Linked DNA regions of Homo sapiens: region 1 is linked to region 2. Evidence: promoter capture Hi-C in human tissues and cell types (Jung and others, 2019). All regions are on one chromosome and are shown on one strand. Each heading gives the region's core, a stretch centred on a gene start or on the middle of the fragment in contact. The rest is flanking DNA. Distances are from core to core; before and after follow the strand shown. Region 1 has its middle 39 kb from the start of PRRG1. Region 2 holds the start of PRRG1 (proline rich and Gla domain 1).

Region 1 (3,687 bases), core at 1,039-3,538, 39 kb after region 2:
TTGCACAAGACTATTATTAAGGCACAATGTCATAGTTTATTTCATGACAATGTCACTTACGCGTACAATAAGTCTGCATCATACAAATAAAGGCATCTTAGACTCAATAGCATATGGTACAACAACCAATATTGCTCTCATGCTGGTTGACAATAGACCCTAAGAGGGCAAGGATAGGAGCAGGGAGGCTATTTAGCAGCTGATTTTGGTGATCCAGGCAACTTGGAGCAGGTGGTAACAGTGGAGTTGGTGAGAAGTGGTCAGATTGTGGATCTATGTTGAAGGTAAAGGTAAGAGGTTGAATATAGGGCATGAAGAAAGAAACATGAAGAAGATTTTCTCAAGGCTTCTTACTTGAGTGACTGGAAGAGCGACAGTGCCATCCACTGAAATGGGTGCACGGGACATGGAAGAGATTTTAGTGACAGCATCAGAAGTTTACTTTTAGGCAAGTTCTGTTTGAATGTTTATTAACAGGTGGAAGGGCAGAGTATACGAGTCCAAAAACTGGTAGGTGTGTAGATAACATGGAGACTGTGAAGTCCTCTTCTGATTACTTAGGCTTTCTCAATGCTGTAGGAATCAGGACAGTAGCTGAGAATAGCGATGAGGGAGGAGGTGTTAAATGTTTGAACAGAGATGCCAAGGTATAAAACAGTCATCCAGGAACTTGTTACTCAGGGGCCAGCAGTGTCAGCATCACCTGGAAGCTTGTTAGAAATGCAGGTTCTCAGGGTCCACAGCAGCATCAGAAATTGTATTTACTAACATCCCCAAGTGGTTTATAGCACACTAAAGTATGAAATACACTTAGAGGAGCATGAATAGATCAGAGAAGAACAGTCTGATAGACCAGCTACATGAAGAGCCCGTTTGAGGTTTGCAGCATGAATTTAAAGAGAGACCTATCTATATGGTTATGGATTTTTCTCCAGTCAAATGCAGTAGCAGGGCACAGCTGCAGAGTAGGCAGAGAGCTAGAGTGATTAGAGTTGTAACTGTTTTAAGGAAGTACATTTTAATAAGAGGGAGTCAAGAGAGTTGTGAATATATGTAAATAAATGCATAGACACATATTGGGGTTACATACTCAAATACATGTGTGTGTGTATGTAAATGTGTGTGTATATATGTGTGTGTATATATATATATATATATACACACACATATATCTGCTGATAATATATGTGATACAAAAAGTTTAGAAACACCTGGTTTACATCATATTCTCTGAAGCATTACCTCCCCTAGAGGACACTTTTTTTCAATAGGGACTTCTGAAAGTCAACTCATTTTCAATTTCCACAAGAAAATGTTTTGATGGTTTTATCCAAGGAGTTCTGGTCAATTGGGACTAAGGAACTTGCTGATGTCCCCTGAAATCACACCTAAATTTAACAGTGTCCTTCCTTGAGGTACTATTTTGATATTTGCCACATAATCCTTTAAGATTTTTTTTGAATGTGGAAATTCCAAGCATGAGTATCACCAATGTGAAAGGTTTTGTCTCCAAATTTAGGGGCCATCTGTATAAGGAAATGTTACAGAATGAGCCCATAGTGCTCGTGAGCGTTTTGATTGTTTCTGCTGTAACACTCAGAATAAAAATCAAAGACTCTGGACAAAGATTACTCTTGTTGGACTTTGACTATTCATTGAACAGTGTTTAAGCCATAGGCACAACAGAAAATGTCTAAATTACCTTAACCATAGAGTCAAGGATTCTAGAGTATAGAAAGAATCTTCAGGTCTTCAGGTTCAATGTCTCATCCAGTCTACAGATAAATGTTCATCCAGCAGCACGAATACTTCCAGTACTGGAGAACGCCTTCCTGCCAAAGTCAGCTAATTCAATTGCTTTTTATATTGACTCTGTATCTGTCTCCCCAAAGCTGCTACCATTGGCCCCAGATCTGCTCAAATAGAGCAAAAGAGAATAGCTATGACTCATTTATAAAGTTTTCAAAACCTCAAAAAATAATAGGCAGAAAGAATAAATAAGACCGAGTATTTGATAGCATGACGGGGTGACTATACTCAATAATAATTTAATTGTACATTTACAAATAACTAAAAGGGTATAATTGGATTGTTTCTAACAGAAAAGTTAAATGCTTGAGGAGATGGATACCCGATTTTACATGATGTGATTATTACCCATTGCATGCCTGTATCAAAACATCTCATGTGGCTCATACATATATACACCTACTATGTAGGTGTATATTAAAATAAAATTAAAATTAAAAATTAAAAAAAGAAAATTCTAAGACTGCTCCTCTTTCAGTGTCAGCCTTGAAACTCACACTGCCCACTGCATGTTTCTTATTTATTCATATCTCTATTAGGATAAGGACCTTAGAAACACATACATCTGTCCAAATGATGTTTGACCATTTCAGAATACCATGGGAGTTCTACCTCCATTGATCTGGGCATGACATTCCCACTAATTTAGAATAAGTTTCCATTAGTTTTCCAATGACTCAGTTAAGATTGTTAATTCATAATAAGGAACAAACCCACCTGGGTGTTTTCCACATTAGTTACTGTCAAGCTGTGTCTCCTCCATCCGGTACTAGTGATCAATCTTTCAGACTTTAATGCAAGGCTCTTGTTTTCCCTTAATAGGCTTCACCTTGTCGGTTTCACCTCATCATTCTATCCCATCAGGTTCCGTAGTAATTCTGTTTCCATTTTCTGAGGTCTAAGCCAACTCTCCTATGCAGAAAAGAGTGAACATGGCAAGCCTTAGAAAGGCCTGCTTGTAGGGACATGGATGAAGCTGGAAAGCATCATTCTCAGCAAACTAACACAGGAACAGAAAACCAAACACCGCATGTTCTTAGTCAGAAGTGGGAGTTGAACAATGAGAACACATGAACACCGGGAGGGGAACATCACACACTGGGACCTGTGGAGGGGTTGGGGGTGGCGGGAGGGACAGCATTAGGAGAAATACCTAGTGTAGATGACGGGTTAATGGGTGCAGCAAACCACCATGGAACGTGTATACCTATGTAACAAACCTGCACGTTCTGCACATGTATCCCAGGACTTAAAGTATAATTAAAAAAAAAAAAAAAGGCCTGCTTGTAAGCTTTGCCCATGACTGCTTTCTGAGAGCTTAGATCTGGGAGGGGGCTGTGGCGGGGGGGAGGTGGGTTCTTAACATTCCCCAATTGACAAGGGTGTTTACTGTCCCTGAACTGTTTGTGCAAACAATATGGTTTATTCTGAGCACCTGCTATCCTTCTGGGCATCTGAATTTCTGGTACACGATAGTCAGAAGGTGCTCATGCTGCCAACTCCAGTAGAAACCCTAAACTGAGTCAGAAAGTGATTCCCTCAGGCAGAAACATCACACACATTGCTGCATTTTTGTTGCTGGAAGAAGAGGATGTTCTACGTGACCGCTCACAGGAGGTATGAACATAAGGAGGCCTGTACAGGAGGTACGAGCATAAGGAGGCCTGCACAAGACTCCACCTATGTCTTTTCCCATTATGACCTGACAAATTCCCTACCATTTGCAAAATCAACTGATATAAAGCCAAACATATTAGTCAGTACTGGCCCTGGTGCATAGGAAGGCGTGGTCAGGCCGGGCGCTTTGGCTCACGCCTGTAATCCCAGCACTTTGGGAGGCCGAGGCAGGCGGATCACAAGGTCAGGAGATCGAGACCA
Region 2 (3,767 bases), core at 605-3,104:
CGGCCTATGAATTACCATCTTTCTAACAGCATTTATTAATATATATCTGTAAGTTAGTTTATTAGGTGCTTATCACATGCCAGGCAGCTCTAGGTACAAGGGTAACACAAAAGACTGAGGTTCTAGTAGTAATGGAGAAATAAGGCAAGTTATATAAATTTAACAGAAAAGGGTGTGATTAATTCACTCTGGAGAAGATGGCAAAATTTTTCAAGAAGTGAATCAGGCTAAGTCTAGAAAGATGAATAGGAGTTCATCAGGCACTAGAAAAGAGAAAAGGCATCCCTAACACTCCCCGCCCTCCACCTGCCCCAAATTTGGGAAAATAGAAAAAGAAAGAATAACATAACAATAAAACCAGAAGAAATCCTGTTCACCTCATGCCTGGGGTTGGTGCAGGGGTGGGGGTTGGGCGGGGTAATTGTGTTTTTAAGTATACTTCAGATCAGAAAGTAAACGTTTATAAAACGGGATTTACAATCGAGGGAAAGGGGTGGAGAGGAGGAAGTTCAGTTTATTTTGTTGTATTAACTTAAAACAAATGAGTAAAAATATCAACATCTATGCTTGGGAACACATATACTATCTTTCATAAAAGTCCCTAAGTTTGAAAATGAAAGCATATGGAGCTTTATCCAATATTACAATATTTGCCCTAATGTTTTGTATCCTTAATATTATTTTCAAAGGTTCTAAAGTGAGTCGGCCCAAGATCTTGACAGCACATCCACACACATGCCCAATAATCCACTCTTGATTGAAACAATCAACAGTAGCCTAACCAACTTTTCACTTACCCTGGCTTGAACACCTTCGCATCCTTCAAAGTCTGGCTTTATAGTATGACCATCAACAGACAAATAATTAAGCTCTAAGTTTTGTCACTCAACCTCTTCATCCTTTCATTCAATTATTTCCTCTCAAATCCCATTAGTTTCGCTTTTCTCCTAAAGGGACTCGTAGAAAATACTTGCACAGCACAATCACAAAAACCAGTGGCTGGAGCCAGAGTCCAAACGCGCACACACTACTTTCCAGTCATATCCCTCTTGGGGCTGTTCCTACCAGTGATCAAATTCAGCGGACCAGGAAGAAGGAAAAACCTGAAGCAGGAAGACTGTTTCTCTTCCTTTCACTTCCCCCCACGCCGCCTCCCCCTCCCCCCGCTCTCCCATCCCCCAGGGCCGCACCGCGACCGACCTCGCACGCACCCCCTCCCACTGTCACCCGCCACTGCCTACAAAACAGTCATAGCCTTTGTTAAAATGTCCACGGGCACAATGGATCAGAAGAGGGACACATTCCCGGGGGTGGGTAAAGGAAAGTCACACGAACGCCACGCCCTCCTTGGGACTAGCCCGGGCCGACAGCCCACCGCCTCCAAATCCTTTCCCCTCCGACGGGGAATGTTTCTAGCAACTCTGCACCAGAGAAAGCAGCGCTGGAGGAAGGGATGAGCTTGGGACGTCCCTCATGGGCACCAAGCAGGGGACTGAACTTGAAGCTGGGACACCCTCCAGCACCGTTGGCAAGCCTCGCGGTCCTGCCCAGTCTGTGTGCGGACTTCCAGCCTGTAAACCCCATTCCTTCAATTTTTTTTCTCGTCATACCCACCCTCACCCACTCCCGCTACCACGCACTCCGCTCCCCACGCGGCCCTGGCCGGACACCCACAGGCAGCGTCGCTACCAACGCTACCGCATATCTGACGGGTTTCTCCTCGCAGAACCGAAGTCACCCCCACACACCCCAATCCTTCCTGGGGCGCTTCGCCTGGATCACGTTTCCCCAGCTAGGAACCCAGCGCGGCCGCCACACTCACAGCGGGTCCCGCTCCGCTACTCGCCGTTCTGCGAGCCGCACGTCGCGCCTGCGCGCTCCTATTTCTGCCGAGCCTAGCTGGAGCCAGGAACCGGGAGCGGACTGGAAGGGAGGTGGAAAGAGGCGGGGGCTGGGCTGGGGCGGGGTTAAGAGAGAAGGGGCGGGAACAGGGTGGGGCGCGGGGGTGGGAAACGAGGGGCGGATCCTCCACCGCTTCTGCTGGGAAGACCCAGGGCTCAGGGCATCCTGCTGGAGCTTTCCACTATTGGGGTTTATTTATAACACATACAGAAAAGCCGTCGAGGCCCCTCTGTGCACTCCCACACGCACCGTGGAGAAAGCCTGGCTCGGCGCGGGCCCAAGTAGTCAGCCGTTGGGCCGCCACGTCTCTCCTAGCCACCGCGGGTCCCCGCCAGCCTTTTTCTCTTTCGCATACATACCTCACCACACATTATTCCTTTTCCTAGTCATTTCTCCTCATCGCGTACTCTTCAGCCCTGGTGAAGTGAGGGGCATAGGGATTTCTCATCCACAGACCGCCTGTGTAGGGCATCCTAGTTAATATACCTCTTTGCTATGTGTGAGCCCAGATCGTGGTTGGTGACTATTCGACCATTGTCCACTGTTACAGCTCAGAGAATTGCACTTTCCTTGAGGAATAATTCCCTTGCCACTGTTTCCGGACAACTCTTGGTGACAACTATCTGCTTTTTCTAAAAAAAAAAAAAAAAAAAAAAACCGTCTTGTACAAACTTACCCAAATATCTTGAGAAGAAAACCCATCTTTGACCTCGCTTTTTAGGTAGAGCTATCTTAGAACTTGAATCTTAAACTTCTACAAGCCCCTCTAAGAAACAGAATAAAAGGCTTTTGCTATTGTGTAAACTTTGACCTAATGCTTGGAGGTTTTCTGGCATTTTGCATCATAAGGAGTCTAGCTTGATTATTATTCCATGCTGCATGCGTGCTTGGTTTTAACTTGTATGCTTTTCTGTTTACAGTCTGGTCAGCTGTGGCATCTCACATGCTTTCAGATCAGCTATTAAAATAAACACACGCCTGAGTGAATCCAAAGTGAATTGGGCTGTGGACCTGAAGTGATTTATTCCAAACTAAGTTCCCCTTCTTTTTACTTTAATTGTGATGGAATTAAGAAACATTTGGCTTATTAAGAATAAAAGAATTGCCACAGGACCACACCAATAGTCTTTCCTAGCAAGCATTTTAACTGTGATGGGAGCATTTTATGGGAGAGTTTGGTGATTGCCCTTAAAGATCTGAATATCCCAAAATTCTTCCATTTAACCTTTCTTGTCTTCCATTCATATATTTTACAAATCAGATTTTCTAGAACTCATTTCTATCTTGCACTTGTCAAATAAGCCTAGGGAGGATGTAGAGAGATATATTGCCAAAAGGTATATTGGTAATGTAGGCACAAATTTTGCAGGATTAGTAAGTCTGTAAGTGCCTGGAAGCAGGACTTTGTCCTATTCATTTCACTAGTAAAATATTTCACATACATGTTCTTAAAAAAATTGCTAGGCTAATAAAAGTAAGATTTGCATCCTTAATAAATGTGCATATGTGTTTTTTTAAAACTTTTCACTTGATTATTTTTTTCTTTTTTGTCTAAATTTTTCAGGATATTTTGGTTGAAATGACAAAAACTAGATTGAAGTAGATCAGGCAAAAACAGGAAGTTATTGTGTAACCCAAGTTGTGAAAGGGTAGGTCTATGATTGGCCATAGGATTAAATGGAACCAGCAACAGGAATGCTTTGAATTCCAGCTCAGGCTCTCAATACAGACAGGGTCATTCTAACAGAACATCTCAAAGTCATGTTCTGCTGGTTTGGCACCGTAGCCTGTTACAAGTTGCTCACACCTACCAAGTTCCTACCAGAGAGAAAGTATCTCTCTTCTCTCACTTCCAGTTTTTAAAG

The links. Contacts are between HindIII fragments. The study calls those that stand out against the background at their distance.
Region 1: a fragment that was not itself captured here is called in contact with the fragment with the promoter of PRRG1 in region 2 in 1 of the 25 tissues and cell types used here (pancreas).

What each region holds. Positions count from the first base shown.
Region 1 is chrX:37,308,757-37,312,443 of GRCh38, reverse strand. No RefSeq gene overlaps it. Among named protein-coding and RNA genes, the nearest start is that of PRRG1, 39 kb to the left of the region's middle. The HindIII fragment of the contact is 5,199 bases long and covers 1-3,687 here.
Region 2 is chrX:37,347,451-37,351,217 of GRCh38, reverse strand. It overlaps PRRG1 (proline rich and Gla domain 1), which reads right to left and starts at 1,854. Exons shown (of 4, transcript NM_001142395.2): 1 at 1,823-1,854. RefSeq lists enhancers at 1,036-1,546, 1,547-2,058. The HindIII fragment of the contact is 19,124 bases long and covers 1-3,767 here.